7 separate regions of the Homo sapiens genome follow, and all the other regions are linked to region 3. Evidence: promoter capture Hi-C in 16 types of primary human blood cells and fetal thymus (Javierre and others, 2016). All regions are on one chromosome and are shown on one strand. Each heading gives the region's core, a stretch centred on a gene start or on the middle of the fragment in contact. The rest is flanking DNA. Distances are from core to core; before and after follow the strand shown.

What was found. Contacts are between HindIII fragments. The CHiCAGO score rates a contact against its expected background, and 5 or more counts as called.
Region 1: a contact is called between a fragment that was not itself captured here and the fragment with the promoter of PLD1 in region 3, in 1 of 17 cell types (neutrophils). The highest score is 5.1, in neutrophils.
Region 2: a contact is called between a fragment that was not itself captured here and the fragment with the promoter of PLD1 in region 3, in 1 of 17 cell types (neutrophils). The highest score is 9.6, in neutrophils.
Region 4: a contact is called between a fragment that was not itself captured here and the fragment with the promoter of PLD1 in region 3, in 1 of 17 cell types (neutrophils). The highest score is 6.5, in neutrophils.
Region 5: a fragment that was not itself captured here is called in contact with the fragment with the promoter of PLD1 in region 3 in 1 of 17 cell types (M0 macrophages); the score reaches 5.2 in M0 macrophages.
Region 6: a contact is called between a fragment that was not itself captured here and the fragment with the promoter of PLD1 in region 3, in 3 of 17 cell types (M1 macrophages, M0 macrophages and M2 macrophages). The highest score is 8.0, in M1 macrophages.
Region 7: a fragment that was not itself captured here is called in contact with the fragment with the promoter of PLD1 in region 3 in 1 of 17 cell types (neutrophils); the score reaches 5.0 in neutrophils.

What each region holds. Positions count from the first base shown.
Region 1 is chr3:172,173,448-172,176,147 of GRCh38, reverse strand. All of the region lies in intron 3 of FNDC3B (fibronectin type III domain containing 3B), which reads right to left. LOC124906304 (a long non-coding RNA gene) reads right to left here. Exons shown (of 2, transcript XR_007096169.1): 2 at 1-2,700. Among named protein-coding and RNA genes, the nearest start is that of FNDC3B, 140 kb to the right of the region's middle. The HindIII fragment of the contact is 2,957 bases long and covers 1-2,700 here.
Region 2 is chr3:172,304,741-172,307,440 of GRCh38, reverse strand. It overlaps FNDC3B (fibronectin type III domain containing 3B), which reads right to left. Exons shown (of 26, transcript NM_022763.4): 10 at 1-78. Among named protein-coding and RNA genes, the nearest start is that of GHSR, 140 kb to the left of the region's middle. RefSeq lists an enhancer at 1,568-1,862. The HindIII fragment of the contact is 9,457 bases long and covers 1-2,700 here.
Region 3 is chr3:171,809,184-171,811,883 of GRCh38, reverse strand. It overlaps PLD1 (phospholipase D1), which reads left to right and starts at 1,401. Exons shown (of 27, transcript NM_002662.5): 1 at 1,401-1,485. The HindIII fragment of the contact is 4,859 bases long and covers 108-2,700 here.
Region 4 is chr3:172,231,899-172,234,598 of GRCh38, reverse strand. All of the region lies in intron 4 of FNDC3B (fibronectin type III domain containing 3B), which reads right to left. Among named protein-coding and RNA genes, the nearest start is that of FNDC3B, 190 kb to the right of the region's middle. The HindIII fragment of the contact is 6,909 bases long and covers 1-2,700 here.
Region 5 is chr3:172,102,202-172,104,901 of GRCh38, reverse strand. The region is part of intron 1 of FNDC3B (fibronectin type III domain containing 3B); the gene reads right to left. Among named protein-coding and RNA genes, the nearest start is that of FNDC3B, 64 kb to the right of the region's middle. RefSeq lists enhancers at 858-1,057, 1,623-1,767 and a cis regulatory region at 1,689-1,702. The HindIII fragment of the contact is 1,069 bases long and covers 726-1,794 here.
Region 6 is chr3:172,139,526-172,142,225 of GRCh38, reverse strand. All of the region lies in intron 3 of FNDC3B (fibronectin type III domain containing 3B), which reads right to left. Among named protein-coding and RNA genes, the nearest start is that of FNDC3B, 100 kb to the right of the region's middle. RefSeq lists an enhancer at 888-1,711. The HindIII fragment of the contact is 2,703 bases long and covers 44-2,700 here.
Region 7 is chr3:172,279,886-172,282,585 of GRCh38, reverse strand. All of the region lies in intron 6 of FNDC3B (fibronectin type III domain containing 3B), which reads right to left. Among named protein-coding and RNA genes, the nearest start is that of GHSR, 170 kb to the left of the region's middle. The HindIII fragment of the contact is 2,202 bases long and covers 235-2,436 here.

The DNA of each region.
Region 1 (2,700 bases), core at 142-2,641, 360 kb before region 3:
TTCAGAGTTGGTTTATAGGAAATCCAACTAATCAAAGGCCTTTTCAACCCATTACCTGGCTTGGAACTGGTTTGGGAATGGAACACAGGATTTTATTGCTCTAACCAATATTTTAGCCAAGTGGGGCTTGCACACCTATGCTGAGCTTTCACCTGATGGGGTAAATTTATATTCTGTGTAGACATATAATAGAAAAGGAACAAAAATAGGCTTATAAAACATTCTATAGATAAAACTGTTTGTTACAGGTAAGTTTTCATTTCCATCCACATAGTGCAAACAAAAAATATTAGGGCAGATTTTTCACATCTGTACTACTGTGATCCCCTCCCCAGGAAAAACAATGTCTTCTGGGGAGACCCTTCACACTTCTCCAACGCGGTACAAGGTTCTCACTTACTATGGTAATCATGTGTTTACATATCGGCTTTAGATTTAGGGTTTTCTGTGTGGTTGTCTGTGTAAATTCTGCTTCTAGATTTTACTTAAACCCCTTTAAGGGCAGAATCTACATCAAATTCATTTTCGTATCTCTAAGAATATTCAAAACATAAAAAGAACTCAAGAAATTAAATATTTGCTAAATGAAGAACTATTTGAGGTTCTTCAGCTACACATACTCTAAATGGCCCCTTTCTAAGAATTTGCCTTTCAGCAATGGGGAGGAGAATAGTAGGTCCCAGTTGAGAACAAAAAAGAAAACAAGAGGTGAAAAGAATATGTAAGCATTTTGCTGTAATACCTCCCCCACCACCCGCCCATCCGCCTACCTACCACGTATAGGACTATAAAATCCTGAGGAAAAAAAGCACTTAAAAGAACAGGCTGGAAATGTTTCAGGAAACCCCTTTCTCTACTTACTCTCCACTTGTTCATTCAACAAAGGCCCAAAGGTGACAGGAAGAGAAGCAAGGAGCAGCAGACATTAGCTCTCTGTAGCTTTTCCCTGGCCATCAACTAGCTTCTCTATTACCACTCTGAGATGACTGAGAGAGACAACGGCAAGGAGACAAGAACCCTGGACTGTCAGACAAATCCAGGGAATGCAGCAGAGAAAGCAAAAGCAGCGAGAAAGCAAAAGCAGCAGGGGCCTGGTCAGGGAGCAAAGATGGAAATGAGGAGAGCAACTGGGAACCCCTGTGAGAAAGCATGGCCAGAGAGGAAACTAGGACATGGGACCGGATGGACAGCAAATTGTATTGGGGGGGGGGGGGTGGCGGGGGGAAGGTCTCCAAAGTCCACAGAGAATCAGCAATTTGGCTAAAGCATGTATGAATAATTGGGAATTAACTGTATACACAAAAGATTTCACCTCATTTACCACAGCAGCTAGATAAACATCATACTAAATTAAATAAGAGGCTATTCACCCACAACCAAACCGAGACCATTTGTCTTCATTCTCTACTAAGATTTTTAAAGAAATTTCACCATGCCTTTGCTGTCGCCCTCCCAATCTGTATAAGGCCCCTGTTTGTTTGTCTTGATGAGGTCGATTCCACTTCTCAAGACTGAAGTCTGAATAGCACTACATTAATCCAGATGCTCTTTCTAAAAGTCTTTCAAATTCAAAGATTCCAAACATTAACATAAAGATACTCAGGGACCAGCTGTTGCAATTAACAAATTGTTTATATGTTCCTTTCTGTTGGCTTAAAAAGTACTAGAAGGAATTTTAAGCAAGATGAGACTGTCATTCAGATTTGGGAGTTTTAAATAGATGGTTTTCATGTTGTTCAGGCTAAAAATAATAGTGTGTATGTCAGACTTCTTGTAAACAGGCTTCAATTCACAAGACTCAGTCTAACTAAGTGGCAGTCTCACCATGCTGTAGAAAACAAAGCATGCAGAAACCAAATTATTTCTGGAATAAGCTCAGTATTTGGAAACTTAATCATTTAGACCTGTCTCTCTAGAGAACAAGAGTAGTCTTCCCCAAATATGCTTGAATGCCTTGGATCCTAACAGGTTCAATAATGAATTCGCTCTTTGGTAAAAGAGAATGAGAGTCATTCTGCATGCAGAGGTGTGAAAGTGGCACAGTCTTCACAGCCCCCACCACATTCCTCCCACCTAAGGAGGTGCCACAGAGTACAGACACATTTCCCGCAATGGGCATCTTTTTCTGCACCCATGAATGGATTCTCAGTTCGCTGACGAACTCGAGAGTTTTCCCCGTAAATAACACATTCTTAAAACATGCTACATCAACACTGAATGAGTTTCACTGGCAGCTCCTACTATTCCATTTCAGTACTCCTGCAACAGCAAAAGCCTTCTATTCCTAGGACATCGGGAGGCTTCCCACCCCGCGCCCCACCCCTCCCCCAGACAGGGTCTTGCTCTGTTGCCCAAGCAGGAACACAGTGCCACAATCACAACTCAAACAGCCTTGACATCCCAGGCTCAAGAGATCCTCCCACCTCAGCCTCCTGAGTAGCTGGGACTACAGGTATGCACCACTATGCCTGGCTAATTTTTTTTATTTTTAATTTTTTTAATTTTTTTTTTTTTTTGTAGAGACAAAGTCTCATTATGTTGCCCAGGCTGGTCTCAAACTCCTAAGTGCAAGTGATCCTCCCGCCTCGGCCTCCCAAAGTGCTGGTATTACAGGTGTGAGCCACCACACCATGCCTACAGAAGGCTTTAAACATTTCCAACGTGAGTCATACAGTAACTCAAAAATTACACGTTGTCTTC
Region 2 (2,700 bases), core at 36-2,535, 500 kb before region 3:
TCGGGTGCACAGCTGTGGGTGGTGAAGCTAACAGGCTCGGAGCAGGATCCCTTTACGGAATTGTACATGGCATACACCCTGAAAACAAAACAGACACAGTCAGTGGCAGTGACTCATCATAGAAGACCAGGATTCTTATCTTTGTTTCACCCTAAGGCTTTCTGTAGATGAACAGAATTTCTTACGGAGTGAGTATCATGCTCTTGCTCTTATCTGTTGGTCTTGTCCTGACCTATGGTTAGCATTAACAGGGGACAGTCATCCCAACAGGTATTTGTCTCAGTGTGTGCCACCCAGCTCCATTTCAAGATAGGCAGGATCTACTGACTAGAAGAGATTATTCTAAGTAAGAAAATAAACCTTAACCCCAGAACGATCTCCAAATATATGTTCTAAAACCCCATGAGCTACTCTCTGGTTGACTTTATCTGGAAAAAGGCTAAGAGTTAAGAGCTGGATAAAAAGGCAAAAGAAACAGTAATAAGAGGTCACAGACTGGAGAGAAAGCATAAAAGTACAAACAGGGTAGATACCATCTTTGAACTACATTTAATACTGTACACATTTATGTAAAACTAGGGATGTTTCACAGAGAAGCTAACAAGTGTGACTTTCTCTAATTCCACAAAAACAATGTTCAGGTACAGTTTAATCCACGTGAATATTTAACTCTTATACATGAAGCCAAGATTAAAGATGTTCGGTCTGTACACTAAAATGTTTGGCTCAACACTGCAACATATGTGCTTGATTTCTCCAGAGAAGCCATGAAGAAAAAGCATAGAACATACTATTAATGCCACACTCTTCAAATAGCATAAAATAGGGCTATGCTGATTTTTATCATCTTCCTACTATTCCATTTTTTATACTGGGAATTTATTTTTTCAAAATTGAAAATGTACTCTTAAAAAACAACAACAACAAAGAACACTTTGCTGCCTAAAACAGATGCAAGGATTAAACTATTCACAGAGTTGGCAAATAGATATTGAGCCCTTAATTCTTATAGCCACCCTCTCTGAGGTAGGGAAATCTTATTACCCATTGCAGACAGAAGGAAACACAGAGATGAAGTACATTTCCCAAGGCCACACAGTTAGAAATTTGGATCAATGGTATTTATCCCTGGAAGTCTAACCAGTATATACGGTATTGCCTATTCCCCTTGTTCATCCTGCAATCATGTTCCTCTAAACACCACAATCCACTTCCCTTAGCCCTACCCAATGAACACAAACAACAGGTAAAGATAACAACATTATGGAAGATAGGTCCCAAGTGTGTGTGTGATTTGCAAAGTCATTTCTCCACAAAGTCCATCATGAAAAATTCATAGAGGCCATACGTCAAAGGCACTAATAGATATGTCTACTTTGTACCTCAAAAGATAAAAATACATACATATTACATATTTGATCTATTTGCCTTATGGGAGGACAGCATGAAATTTGATCCAAACAAATAATGCTTATCATTGGGATGCTCTCCACCCAACCCCTGATGAAGGAAAAGGTCCTTTTTGCACGCACTGTAAGTAGGCACGTGATAATATAAAACTAAATGGTAGATCTGGTAAGATCATTTCCCTGTGTCAGGATGGGCTCACTGGGAGTAAGTTACTTTAAATGAATCACAACATGTTCCAGACATGGGCAGGGCTCAAGCCTGAACTTTGATACACAGAATTCTCCAACAGGTGACTCATGGGTTGCATCTGACCCAAGACACATGTGTATGTGTGGTGGCAGTGTGCAAAAACATAATGTTTTGAAGTATTAGAGCCACCTATGAATTAAAAGATACAGGCAATGACCATCACAAAAAGAGACAACCAGACACCATGCATTCCTAATAAAGGACTATGTCACTACCTACAAAACTGTCTTGGCAGAAAAACTGAACCTGTATCTGATTAAACCTCTTCATTGCTTTATGGGAAATATAGAGGACAGGAGAACAATATTAAGCAACACAACACGGATGCAGTCAGCCAAACTCATACTTGTGGAAGACTCTACAGGACAAACAAATTAATCTAACAAACAAGTTGCAAGAAAGAGAAAAAGATAAAGGGAAAAATGAATGGATTAAAATATATTTAAGACATATCAACCAAACCACATATTCACACATTTGAATTCCAATTACAACAAACTAAAGAAACAAAATCTTCATTCTTAGAACTGAGGAAATGGGAACAGTCCCGGGATTGTGAAGACATTTCAGGTGTGTGTGATGATGGTAATATAGTTTATAGGTGAAATAATATGATGTCTGAACCTTACTTCAAAATCATCAGGGCAGGGGAGAGGTAAGTGAGGACAATGAGGTAACAGAAGTTGAGTGATGAGAGTTCATTAAACTACTACTATCTAAACTACTATCTACTTCTGACTATATCTAACATTTTCTGAAATAAAAAAGTAAAAATTAAGCCTTCACTGAAAAATATCTGGAGCGCTCTCATTTTAAAAACCAAACTTCTGGCTTCTCTTAAAAACTCAAGGTTTTAGCAACACTTGGCTTTTTTTTTTTTTTTTTCAGATGAAGTCTCGCTCTGTCGCCTAGGCTGGGGTGCAATGGCATGATCTCAGCTTACTGCAACCTCTGCCTCCCAGGTTCAAGTGAGTCTCCTGCCTCGGCCCCCTGAGTGGCTGGGATTACAGGCACTTGCCATCATGCCTGACTGATTTTTGT
Region 3 (2,700 bases), core at 152-2,651:
ACTGCTGCTTCTCAACCAAAAGCATTATAATTTCTAAAGACAAGCTTGTAAGAATGCAGTTACGTGTGTGCACAAGACTTATCAGACCATCTGTGACTAATAAAGCTTGAGAAAGAGGGGAGGAGAGAGGGTATTCTGCCTTCCAGTAACATGCTTGTCTGAAACTTACTAAACTCCTCTTAGGCAATACTCTGCTCAGAGAGTCATGTGTTTAATTGTAAAAATCTGTCAGTATCATAGGATTCAAAAGACATCAATCATTTATGTCAACAAGGAAAGAGTGAGGGCTGTGTGACTCTTCTATCATTAGGAAAAGATGTGCTCAAGAGACAAAAATGTGGTCTAAGGAGGGCTGAGCAACTGTAGGTTACAGGAAAACTGAGTTCCAGACTATAATTTGGCCCCCCTCCCCTAATTTGGACTGGTATATTATATTTTTCATTTCATGCAATGCCATGTGTGCAGTAAGACATTATGTAACTTGGTCAGTCGCAGTTGTGTAATATCCACTAAATGCTTTAAAGTGGCTGACGTTATTAGCAGTTTGGTGCATGGGGAGGCCATTGCTTCCCCTGGCTTTGGCGGGATGCAATATCGTGTAATGAGGTTGGAACTGGCCTATATTCAAAATTACATTCCCAAAGGGCTGCTATTCAAGCCACATGACAACTGGTTCTCTTTTTCTTAAGACTTTATTCTAAGTGGACTGAAAACAGCAAAATTGCCGTGTTTGAACGGTTCCATAGGTGGAATGGGTCTTTTCCCTGTTTTGCTCCCAATTTATTATTTTATGCTAAGATTTCTGAATTATAACCAGTTTTAGAGACATCGGGACACAAATTCCCGTCCCCCTCCATCTAAGCTGTGTGACCTCGGGCTGGTTCTGAGCCTTCATTTCCTTACCTGTAAATTGGCGATAACACTTCCCTAAGGAGGTGCAAGAAGGCTTATAAAGACTCCAGCAAAGCTCCAGTCTCTTAATTATGTCACCTCAGGCAAGTTATTTAGCCGTTTGATTTGCTGATTCCTTACTTATAAGTTGGACCAGTTGTGGCTACTATCCGCAGTAGTCGAAGAATAGATATCATAGGCAAAGCTCCGGGAAAGGTGGCTGGTCCTTGGCGGCTCGAGAGGACCTGATAATGGTCCTAATAGCGAGCATTCCCTAGGGTGATGCGGTCGAGTTATGAAACTTTGGGAAAAGAGAACAAGGAACGCGGGCGATCAGAGGCCCAGTCGCGAGACCTGCCCCGCTGGGGCCTCCAGCCGGCACCGCGACGCCCCGGGACCTGGCACCGCCTCGCTCCACCCCTGCGAATCCGGGGCGAATCCGGGCGGAGAGTTCCTGCCGGCCGCGCAGCGCAGAGCCCCCTCCGGCCCGCCCTCTCTCCCTCCCTCCCGCTGAGCTCCAGCTGTGCCAGAGGCACCCGAGCCCTGAGAGTCCGCCGCCAACGCGCAGGTGCTAGCGGCCCCTTCGCCCTGCAGGTAGGAGCCGCGCCGAGACCCGGATCACCGGGCGCCCGTGGGAGCCGGGTTTCCACTGCCCTCGCCCTCCGTCCCTCCTCCGCCCAACCTGGGCAGCTGGCCGCTCCCCGCCCAACTTGGACGGGATTTCAGCGAGTGAGTCGGCGGCGGACTCCCTAGCGATCCCCAAGGGCCTCCCTCGCACGCCTTCGGGTGGAATTCCTGCAGGGTGAAAGCTGACAACTCTGGCACGCACTTTTGCCGCGCGGGCGGCTGCCTGGAGCGCAGAGCCGCGCAGGCTCAGGCTGAAGCCCAGGCGTCCTCTGCAGGATGCACCGCCTCGCCGCCACAGGGCTTCGGGTGCAGTGTGTGTGGTGTCCCCAGGTCATCCGGGCGCCCTTGGTTCGGGTGCGCGGTGGCATGACTGGGCTGGTGGGGGCGATGGGACCGGCATCCCGTACCAACCAGGAAGTGCCGCGTCCCAAGGCTTCGAGCCCAGCCCGCAGAGCACGGTCCTGGGGGTGTGATCACAGCTGCTGACCGCGGCTCCCGCCGTGTGATGTGACCACTCGGAGGTGGGGCGAGGGGGCCGGGGGCCAGCAGCAGGGAGTGTGTAAAAGGTCTTCTTCCTCACAATACGATTGAAGGTGTTTGGGACGTAGGGCTCAGATCCAGGAGTGCCGTCCTCCAAGCCTTCCATAGGATTTTGTGACGCCCTTGAGAACCGCCCTTGTAGACTCAGTCCTGAACTACCGCCACGCCTGTATTTGCTCCTCCTCATCTCGGATTATTGCTTTCTTTACTTCCTCTGTGAAGCACTAAATACTAGTAGCTTTTTAAGAACAGACCACAACAGTTTCTTCGTTTGACCATTACTAAGTCTGCCTCCAAAATGGGGAGTTCCGTTAACTTTATCAGCCAGCCCTGCCAATTTTAGTTAAGATAAGCCTTCGTGGGCCTCCAAAGGCCTCTGAGAGACTAGGTACCCAGAGACCTCTGAGGTATGTTAAATGGTTTAGTTCGTGGTGGTGCAATGAAAACTTAAAGAAGGAAAGGAATCTGCAATTTGAACTGTTAACAGACCCCACATTTACACACTGCCTATTTGAATAAGAATCTCTTTCAGTATTAAATGTTTTGTGACACACAAATGAATTTGTACACAGTCTTTTAGCTTGAATTTGTAGACAGCCTTTAAATGTTGTTTGGGGATCTTTGGACTAATTGTATAAGCGC
Region 4 (2,700 bases), core at 166-2,665, 420 kb before region 3:
ATAAGTGTGCCACACTGCTTTGGTAATGACTGCTTTTGGAAACTTACGTATAGTCTCATTTGATACCCTGTTAAGGAATAATATGAACAGAGGAGAATAATCTAATTTTAGATTAGAAAAGAACCCCAGAGATCCTGAAACACTTTCCTCTCTCCGCTTCCCTCCATGAGATAAAAATCACTCCAGCCAGATAGCCAAATTTTGATAAATGCCTATTATGTGCTGGGTACCTTTCAAGGAACTAGAGATCAAGTGATGAACAGGACTGAACAGGACACACAAGGTCCCTGCCTTTGTGGACTTAAATGCTAAAAGGAAGACAGACAATGATCAAGTAAACAAGTGACACACCCAAATAAATCACTTAATATTCCTAAAATCACACAGAGAGTTGGATGTAGAGCCTCGCTTGGGCCCTCGTTTCCTCCCACTAATCCCATGTTCTATTATGTCACGATGCCGGGATCACAGAAACAAAGGAAAGAAATCAAAGAGAAAATGCAGAACAGGGAGAAGGCTCAGAAAGACGAAACTGCACAATACTTTGAGGGGAGGGGATGTCCTTGGTACATTTCTTTAATTTAGCATTGCCAACCCTGTCTGTAATTGCTCCTTGGACAAAATAAGCCACAAGATAAAAAATAAAATTGCTTCAAATCCATTGATAACTGAAACGAAATATCTAAGTACTATGCTGTTTTCCATGGAACACAATACCAACCCCCATGCACACAATGTACACTATGGAACAATTCCCTAACTTCCTATAGAGAAATCAGTTCCTCTGAAGGACCAAGAGTGTTGAAAGAGAATCCAATTCTCCTTATTGGCCACCAAATGGGTCTGAATCTCAGTTTCTCAGGGCATAGGGCAGTCCCCCATGTGCCTTTCTGTTATCATTTTCACAACGTTGAAGGTGAAACAAAGCAGTGGTTTAATCCCCAGCTGTAATTACCAAAGGGAAGCAGTTGAGGCTAATGTCTATAGCTCAGCTGGCTTGGCTAAGCGAAATGGGGGGAAAGTATTGCACAGCTTCCACCTAACAGGCCCCACTGTTTCTCCACAGAGGTGTCTGCTTTCTGGCCAGCTCTCCACTCATCATTGGCAAATGACCAACCAAACCAAAATTCAAATATATTTTTCAATACATTTCTTGTCTTTCCCTGGCTAAGGGAAATGAAATATATATAATTTCAACAGGTACTGACCCATTAATTAATCCCCAAAATAATCCAATGCGGTATTTTTGTTGTTTCTGCTCTCACAACAAAAATATTTATTTTGACTACTAACTTTTGGGATTACAACAGTTAATCTGGAAAAAGAAGAGTGGTTTCCCAAATGATAGAACATTAACTTGGAGGTTTCACTTTTTCTCTTCATATGCTTTTTAAATCCTTGGGTCAATATGAAGTTTTCCCTATAACATTTGAGCAAATGTATCATAAATTACTACGGAAGCATGGAAAATAAAACTCAAAGCATCTGCTTAAGAAATTTTTACATATAAATTATTCAGAAAGTTAATGGTGAGGTTAAAAAACAGAGAGCCATGGCCAGTATACAATGGAAGGAAAATTTTCCTTCACACCATGTGATTTCAATATGTATTTAGGAGGGCAAGCTCTGCCAAACTTCCATTGGAACTGTTGTAACAGTCTTTTTCATTGTAGTAGCTACTACTTACTGAGTGCCACACCTCACATAACATTTCTCCTAATTCTTACCTCTACCACGTCAAGTAGGTGTTCACATATGTGGTGAAATAATTTATCAAAGTTACACAGAAAGTAGCCAAGATGGAATCTGAAGAAAGGCCTCTCCAGGTAACGTCCATGTTCTCCTTCAGTTTCAACTCTAATCACACTCACAAGTGCTTTTACATAATGGAGATGATGACTGTGATAAGATTAAATTCCCACTTACCTAAATCCACTTTCTCATAGTTTAAAAAAAGGTCTATATTTTCTCTCAAGTTGAAAAGAATCCCTCTACCTCTCATCCCACTAAAAAATAAGGCACAAAACACACCACATCCCCCAACCTACTATATCAGAGAAACCACCAAGCTGAAATGACAGGATTCCACTGTTTTTGCACCCTAAGTCCACAGTTATCTGTAAGGTCCACCAATTCAGCCCTTCTCAACCTAAGAAAACAAAGCTCGTGCTGTTGATTGCACCTCCACAGCTGTCTGTTAAACTTCAGGAGTTTATTATCTGCTTATTACTGACATTTGTATTTTGTCAGATTTGACCAATTTTATTAATTTATCTTTAAAGGACTTTCGGCTATTTAATTATACAACAAATCTGCTATAATCAAGAACTTCTCTATTCAATCAGATTAGAGTTATTACCATAAAATCTTGATTTACTTGCCTCCCTCTTCAATTTTCTTACAATTAAAGACCATACTGGCAGGGTGTGGTGGCTCACACCTGTAATCCCAGCACTTTGGGAGGCTGAGGCAGGTGAATCACTTGAAGTCAGGAGTTTGAGACCAGCCTGACCAACATTATGAAACCCCATCTCCGCTAAAAATATAAAAATTAGCCAGGCATGGTGATGCGCGCCTGTAATCCCACCTCCTTGGGAGGCTGAGGCACGAGAATTGCTTGAACCCAGGAGGCAGAGGTTGCAGTGAGCCAAGATCATGCCACTGCACACCAGCCTGGGCGTCAGAGCAAGACTCCATCTC
Region 5 (2,700 bases), core at 11-2,510, 290 kb before region 3:
AGCAAAACCAGAAACTGCTTTTGATAATAACCATGGAAACACCAACAGCATCAACAAAAGGAAAAAAATTTCATTAAAACAAAATAGAAACACAATGTGATCTTCTTTACCTCTGAAATTCTGGGAAAATCTGCTCATCCATCAACACACACCTGACTGTTTTGACCACTTCCCTGCTACTGTGAGAATATGGCTTTTCTTTCTCTTCCCAGTAACACTACACCAATGCCTTGGCATTGGCTCTGCCCATGTGGAATTAGCATGTCGCCATTATGAACCTGATGTGGGACACTGCCATTGGACAGGAGAAACCTAGAGGTTGTTTTAGTGCTTTTCCTTGAGCTAATCGCTCCTGTACACTTCAGGCAAACATTCCCCTTTGCTTTTTAAAAAATCAAATTAAGTAGCACAAAAAAAGGATATGGAGAGGGACTAAGAACTGTTATTAGAATTTTTCACATCCCCTATGCTAAAAAAAACTTTGGAAAAAAAAAAAAAAACTATAGTGGACAGGCTCCAGCACTGAGTATTGGAAAACATGAGTTCTAATCTGGGATTTGTCAATAAAATAATTAGCTCTGAACTTCAGTAATTAATTTCCTCTTATAAAATGACAATATTATAGATTAGCCCTTAAGGTTCCTTTCTGATCTTAAGGGAGTATGTTTCCTCCCTTCAATACCAATTGCTTACCCTGCATACCTAATATTGATTAAACTAAAGCTTAAAAAAAGACACATAAAAAAACTTCTAAAAACCTGTTTCCTTCATTTAAGTACAGCTTGAGCCTTCTGCATAAAAGGAAGAATCTAAGTAAAATGTTGAGAAAAGAATGTATTGAGCACACAGTGCTGATAATCACTGTGTTTTTATGCCAATAAAATCTAATTTTACAGCTGAGTTCTATACAGCTGTGCAAGAAAGACTCTTGCCATGGCTTGCCACTTGAAGGAAAGAAGGAGTGGTGATAATTGTTCATGCAGAAAAACCTCTTGAGACATGAGCAGTACCTGGAGGTATGTGCCCAGCTGCTTGGTTGAGGCACAAACAGTCTGGAATTTGCCTTCTTGTCTGATATGTGTTCATTAGTGAAGTAAAATCACAGTTGTCTGAAAAAGTTCTTAACCTTAAAAACGTTCTTGCGTTTTACATCCAATTATAAGCATAAAAGATTTAGTCGGGAGCATTTAAATCCACAGAGAAATCCTGTGAAACTGAGTTTTTTAGATTAAAAACACCACCACTTCAGATTAAAATAAATACTAGGTTCAAGCAACAAGCCCAAAGGAACCATCCACTGTGCCCTTAAGTGCAAAAAGGGGATGGATGTCCCTATTGTATAGGCCCTGCCTTCAAGAATCCATAGATGCTTTTTAAACATTTTTGGCTTGGCATAATTTTAAATTTGGCAAAGCAGAGTCATGTCTGAACTCAAATCTAATGTACAGGAAAGCACTATTTTCTCGGGGAGAAAAATCCATATATATAAGGATTATGAGTAAAAATTACATGTAATTTGAGGCTGCTTCCGTAAACCCCTATTAATATAAAGAGGTTGCTTCCATAGCAGCCCGACATACCCCAAATTTTACAGAAACATAAAAACTAAATGGAAAAAAATTACATCACTATATATACACAATCTCTTGACCTCAGATCCACATCCTCACATAATACCAGCTCAGTTTTGCAAATATTAACTAAAAGGGAAAGGGGGCTTATCTACAAAAAAAGTTTACCAACCAAAGGTTCGTTTGCTTTGTTCGTTGTTTTTAAGTGGTATTTACATAAGCTTGCAGACGTAATTAACCATTTTTATTAGAACACTTAGATTCCAGGTACACTCATATCACAATACATCTCACACCCTGACATCCCAAGGATGACAGTCAAGTATCTACAAGGAAACATGCCAAAGCTATGAGCCCTTATTCTCACACATACCCAAGCTAACCTGGTCACAGCATCCAAACATGGGAATAACTGAAAATATAGATTTTCAGTGAAATTTGAAATGTTATGTGTTTCTGTAAGACAGTGAGAGAAAAGTCTACAGAACTGTAGTCAGATAGTGAAAAACATCACTTCTAAAGCCCCTTGAGGAAGTCTAATTCTAATCTGCACGGGGAGGTGGAAAGAGACAGGAAGTCAGAACACATGCTCCTCCTCCCCAGCGCCAGAAGCTCACGCTTTACCCAGCCCTTGCCCAGACCTTGGGCACTACACCTGCCTGGCACCCCACAGCACTTTGACAGGTCCCACTGCTTTTCAGGACTGTGGTTCAAGGTTTTCCTATGTAAGCTCTCTGTGTCTTAGTTTCTTTATGTATAATATGAATGATATGGCTGCTTAAGTACATGACTTCCAGATAGCCCTTTAATAAGATCCAAAATGTATTTTATTGTTCTATTTGTAGAGATCTATTACGAATCAAATTCACATTTGTGCATCAATTTGGGCACCTAAGAGACATGCATAACACCCTTGAATAGAAGAAAAAAAAAATGTGTTGCAAGCACCAAACAACTGATTGCTTTCTGGAAAGATGTGGAGGAAGAGCTTTGAAGCTGCTATTTCAGCCTGCTGGGGCAAAGGCACTGTTTGGGGCACCTGCACACTAATTCTTACCTAGCATCAAAACATCCTATGAAGTAGCTGGTATTGTCCATTTACAAATATAGTAACTAAGGCTAAAGAAAT
Region 6 (2,700 bases), core at 146-2,645, 330 kb before region 3:
TGAAGGGGGGGTCAATGCCCACCCATAATAAAGAGCGAAAGCTTAGTAATCACTCCTATTTATTGGGCCCCTACTATGACTCAGAAATTGTTCTTAGTGCTCTGTACACAATAACTCATTTAATCACAGCAATCCTTCCAGAGAGAAATTACTATTCCAGCTCTACAGATAAGGAAACTGAGGTGTAGAGAAGTTAAGGAACTAATTTTACAATATACATCTAATGTGCAGGGGATTTTTGAGCCAGGCAATCTCACTCCAAAATCTATAATGATCTTCCCAATATATAGCCCTGACTGCTTCTTGGTACTGCCTAAGAAACAGAATGCACTAAATAAAAATTTTAACAAGTATGGAAACAAGTTTTTTTTTTTTGAGACGCAGTCTCACTCTGTCTCCCAGGCTGGAGTGCAATGGCACGATCTCAGCTCACTGCAACCTCCATCTCCCAGGTTCAAGTGATCCTCCTGTCTCAAGCCTCCTGAGTAGCTGGGATTACAGGTGCCAACCACCAAGCCCAGCTAATTTTTGTATTTTGGTATTTAGGGGGAAATAGAGATGGGGTTTCACCATGTTGGCCAGGCTGGACTTAAACTCCTGACCTCAGGTGATCTGCCCCACCTTGGCCTCCCAAAGTGTCGGGATTACAGGCGTGAGCCACTATGCCCAGCCAGAAGTATGGAATTCAATGAAAATGTAAAAGGAGGCACATTAGAAAAACTGCTTTGTTGGATAAAATAAGAGGATACAGCCTTCTCTGAATATAGCTGCTCAGGCGTGGTGCAAGAGTGAACGGCTGTTATTCAAAAGAAAACCAACAACTAAAAATCTACAACAAAATTTACTTTAAATTCATGGAACACTGGACCCATTGTTTTAGCTATAACCCCATATCTGAACAGTATACACATTCTTATAAACCTTCATCTAAAATGTTTGAACTGGTGCCATCACCAGCAACCCTATGAAAGCAAGTCTATCATAAATAAGCAATGAAAGGGAGACTAGAATTTCAACTGATTTCTACAAGTAGGAAAATGAAGTCATTGCCCACAATCATGCCATCTATTTAGGGGGGGGAAAAATCAGTAAAGCTGTGTATACAACTAGATAATGATGATAAGAATAATGACACTTACAATGGATTATCCTCACAATCCTATCAGATAGGTACTATCATTGTTCCCATTTTAAGAGAGGAAATTGGGGCTAACAGGTTAAGCATTAGCTACGAAATGACCAGGGATTCACACTACAGAGCTGTACTCTGAGAACTCAACACCAATTCATCTTAAGTCTGATGACACAACATTGGGTGACAGTTTTATCTAAGGGTTTAACATTCCGTTCTTATGTAAATATAAGAATAAACATAAAAATCAAGATAACTGAGACAGGAAGAAGGAGAAAGGCAGGAAGCAGCATATACCCTGAGTACCTCCCTTGAGAGGGACTTAAAACCTCCTAGGAAAGCAACATAGTTTGGTATTGACGTAACCCAGCCTCATGACATTACACAATCCCAGCAAGATGACAGTTGCACGTACAATCACAGCCTTTGCTCTCATTCCTTCCATAACCTGGACTTTCTGCTCTGGGCCCGTCAGTATTTTCCGGCCCTGGTGGAAACCACCTGCTGGTAAACTTCCAGTTACTCAGCAGCAAGCTGCTGTCTGTAAAAGGGTTTCTCAGGTCAGCGTATGGAATGTCTACTTGTAACAAATAGCTGTGCATCAGTCCATGTTGAGAGGAATTGCTAACTGTCATGTGCAAAATAGAGCCCCCAAACATTTCAGAGATCAAGAGTACTCCACAAAGCTGAAAGTAATTTTTCTTCAATCTTTCTCCAAATTTCATGTAAATCCAATCATGGAAAATGGAAAAATCGTCTAATGAAGCAAATATATATACACACACGTAAATATATATTTGTAGTACAGACACACACAGGTAAAAGACTGATTGGTCTTGAAGCTAACATTTAAGTATCATAAGGTAAGCTGGAGAGTTGGTAGAGTAATTCAGATTTTCCTAGAAATTCAGACTATCTTGGCTTAGAGCCTCCTGGGAGGATTAACTCTCACCATATACAGCTTTGGATCAATCAGAAAGAAAGATGGCCATGACACTAGGGCTAGCCTTGGCAAATGACTTGCTATTTTCAATTCTAGAAGATTTTCCAAGTGAGGCCTAAGTGTTCACAATAACATTTCAGCTTGTTAGCAATCCCTCACAAATCCACCAAATACTAAAGAAATGGGTTTCGGACAGGCACACTGGCTCATGCCTGTAATCCCAGCAATTTGGGAGGCCAAGGTGGGAAGATCACTTGAGCTCAGGAGGTCAAGGCTGCAACGAGCTATGATCTGATCGTGCCACTACACTTCAGCCTGGGTGACAGAGCAAGTCTGTCTCAGAGCCAGGTCTTTGTTTTTGAGACAGGATACCCTGTCTCAAAAAACAAAAAAAAAAAGAAATGGTTTTCAAGGCAGTTTCTTATGTAGAAAACAAGCTCCTAAAATCCTAATCTTGTAATAGGAAGAAACATTTCCATTTATAATACAGACATTTTACAAATAGTCAAATAACAATTCATCCAATATAATAAAAGTTGGCAAAGATTCAGAATTTAATGCATTCATGTTACAATAATTTTACTTTCAAATCACCCAAATATTTTTAATCAAAAAACTGGTTGCA
Region 7 (2,700 bases), core at 86-2,585, 470 kb before region 3:
AAGGCCACCTATCTGCTGGGAATGTATATGAAGAAAGGAAGAATTTAAAAAGTGGGCCTTGAATGGGGCCAAATAAACAAAGGATTCTGAGAAGATCAAAAATAAAAATGGCAGGGCATGGGGAGGGAAGGCAGTGACAAAGCAATCACTGCCCTATCGTGTCTGGTCACTAGCCCCTCATGTTAGGAGAAACGTGGTACCAAGGCCAGATGGAATTCTGTCTTCTTTCAAGCTTCTAATTGTAAATATGGGAAAAAAGAGAGAAAAATGCACTTATATTACATTTATTTAATGTAATGCTTTTCCATTCGTGCTGCCACAGACTAAGAAGGAAAAGGTAAATAAAACCCAGGGACACAATTTGCACCAAACAAGAGTAAAAATAAAATTTGTTTTAAAGTGACAGTTACTTCCCACATAAACGATCAACTCTTGTACGAAAGCTAACAGTCTAGTATGAAAATGTCAAAATTCACATCTCTACGACCTAAATAAGCGAGTTAACTAAGCCCTTGGCCTATCTCACCCTAAGCATGATCTAAGCGTGCCTCGAAGTACACTGAATGACCACTCTTTCCATAAAACAGTTTCAGAGCCCAGCTGTACAAAGAGTGTATGTCAGAGTTTGGATGAAGCTATTGTTTGGTGGCATGTTTTCTTTTTTTTTGTTTTTTTTCTCCTGTCTCTCTCATGCACACACCTCCCATATTGTGAAGGAAAGAAGAATAACTGATCCCCTCACAAAAATAAGCAAACAAAACAAAAAAATTCTGCTGATTTGCCTTTAGGGTAGCTTCTTTTATTCAAGCTGAAAACTCTGTCTGGTTTTTGTTTCTTCCCCTCTTAAGAACTTGGTACTTGGTGTGAGCCAACTAAACAAGAGATTGCCCCAGAAGTGCACAAATGCAAGGTTCTGGTGCAAGGTCAGAGGACAAGTTTCTTATTCTTCATTCTCAGGGGCTATTTTCCACCTTCTGGTGTGCAGTAAATAAATTAGACAAAATCATGTAAGCAAACCCTATATTTCCTATTCCTTACACTGAAGCAGCCACAACGTAAGTAAACAGATCGAAACCATTTTCCACCTGATTCCACCTTGCTGGTGACCACGGCTGGGGTAAATGAACATGAAAACCATTTTCTACATTGCTGCCTTCTTAGCAGTTGAATGGCATTAGCCGGGCGTGGTGGCGCACACCTGCAATCCCAACTACTCAGGAGGCTTAGGCAGGAGATCGCTTGAACCCGGGATGTGGAGGTTGCAGTGAGCTGAGATCGTGCCACTGCACTCCAGCCTGGGCAACAGAGCAAGACTCCGTCTCAAAATATAAATAAATAAATAAATAAATAAATAAATAAATAAATAAATATAAATAATAATAATAAGGCACTCTTGTATAGTGTTTCACACAGAGAAGGGGCATTTTGTTTTGCAGATATAGGCACATTTAATGGTAGGAAAGTTTTTGAAAAGGAGCTAAGTTGGGCGCCTCTAATTCAAACATGGTCAGCTGAGAACCAGCCTATCTGGAAATGCTAAAAAAGGGAAAGGGGGCTCAGCTTAGAGACACAAGTCTTTCTTTTCCCTAAAAACAAATCTCCTACACCAAGGAAATAAAGCATTTTTAGTAAAAGGAAGGTTGAAATAAAAATACACAAGCAAAGCAAATAGTTTTTTTCAAAAAAAAGAAAGAAAGAAAAAACCCACACACATAGAGGGAAGATGTGTCATGTGAAATTTAAATTTTCCATAAATAATGGTTTTCATGTTTGCTCCAAAAAGAAACCTAAGTTCAGACTGTTTGAATAACTGTTAAGACCTAAACTAATTAAAATATCCTCCTTTATAAACATACTTTACTTCTTTGGTTTATTTCACATTTTTTCCTTCTTAGAAAAGAAATAGAGCTACACACTTAGCTACTAGCTATAGAATGTATTTCTGGTTGTAACAGCTCTATCATTCCAATGGGATGACATCAACATTATTTCTCTCTAAACCTTCTGTCTAGTTCTTATCCACAAGGCTCATTTGTAGATATCCCTGTCATAACATCATATGCTTTCTCAGATCTGCCAAGGAGCTGACATAGCTACTCTCTTTAACAAATCATGTATAATGAACTAGGGGCGTGGAAAATGTGTGGCTTCTGATCATGCTCATTTTGGAGATAAGAAGCCTAAAGCCAACAGTAAACAATCAATATGAAAACAAACAAACAAAAAAGAAACAGAAATAAATAATTTTAGGTGAAAACGAAAAATGTGACTACTCAATAATAAGGACAAGCTAGATACCTAGTCAATGCCTACTAATGCTGATAAGCATGAATGGGGACAAAAGAAAACAATATTAAGAATGTGTGTTGATGGCTGGATGTGGTAGCTCATGCCGGTAATCCCAGCACTTTGGGAGGCCAAGGCGGGCAGAAAGCTTGAGCCCAGGAGTTCAAGACCAGCCTAAGCAACATAGTAAGACCCCATCTCTACGAAAAATACAAAAATTAGCTGGGCTTGGTGGCACATGCCTGTAGTCCCGACTACTTGGGAGGCTGAGGTGGGAGGATCGCTAGAACCCGAGGAGTTGAAGCCTGCAGTGAGCTGAGATGGCGCCACTGCACTCCAGCCTATGCAACAGAGGGAGACTTGTCCCCAAACAAACAACAACAACAACAACAACAACAACGAATATGTGTTGAA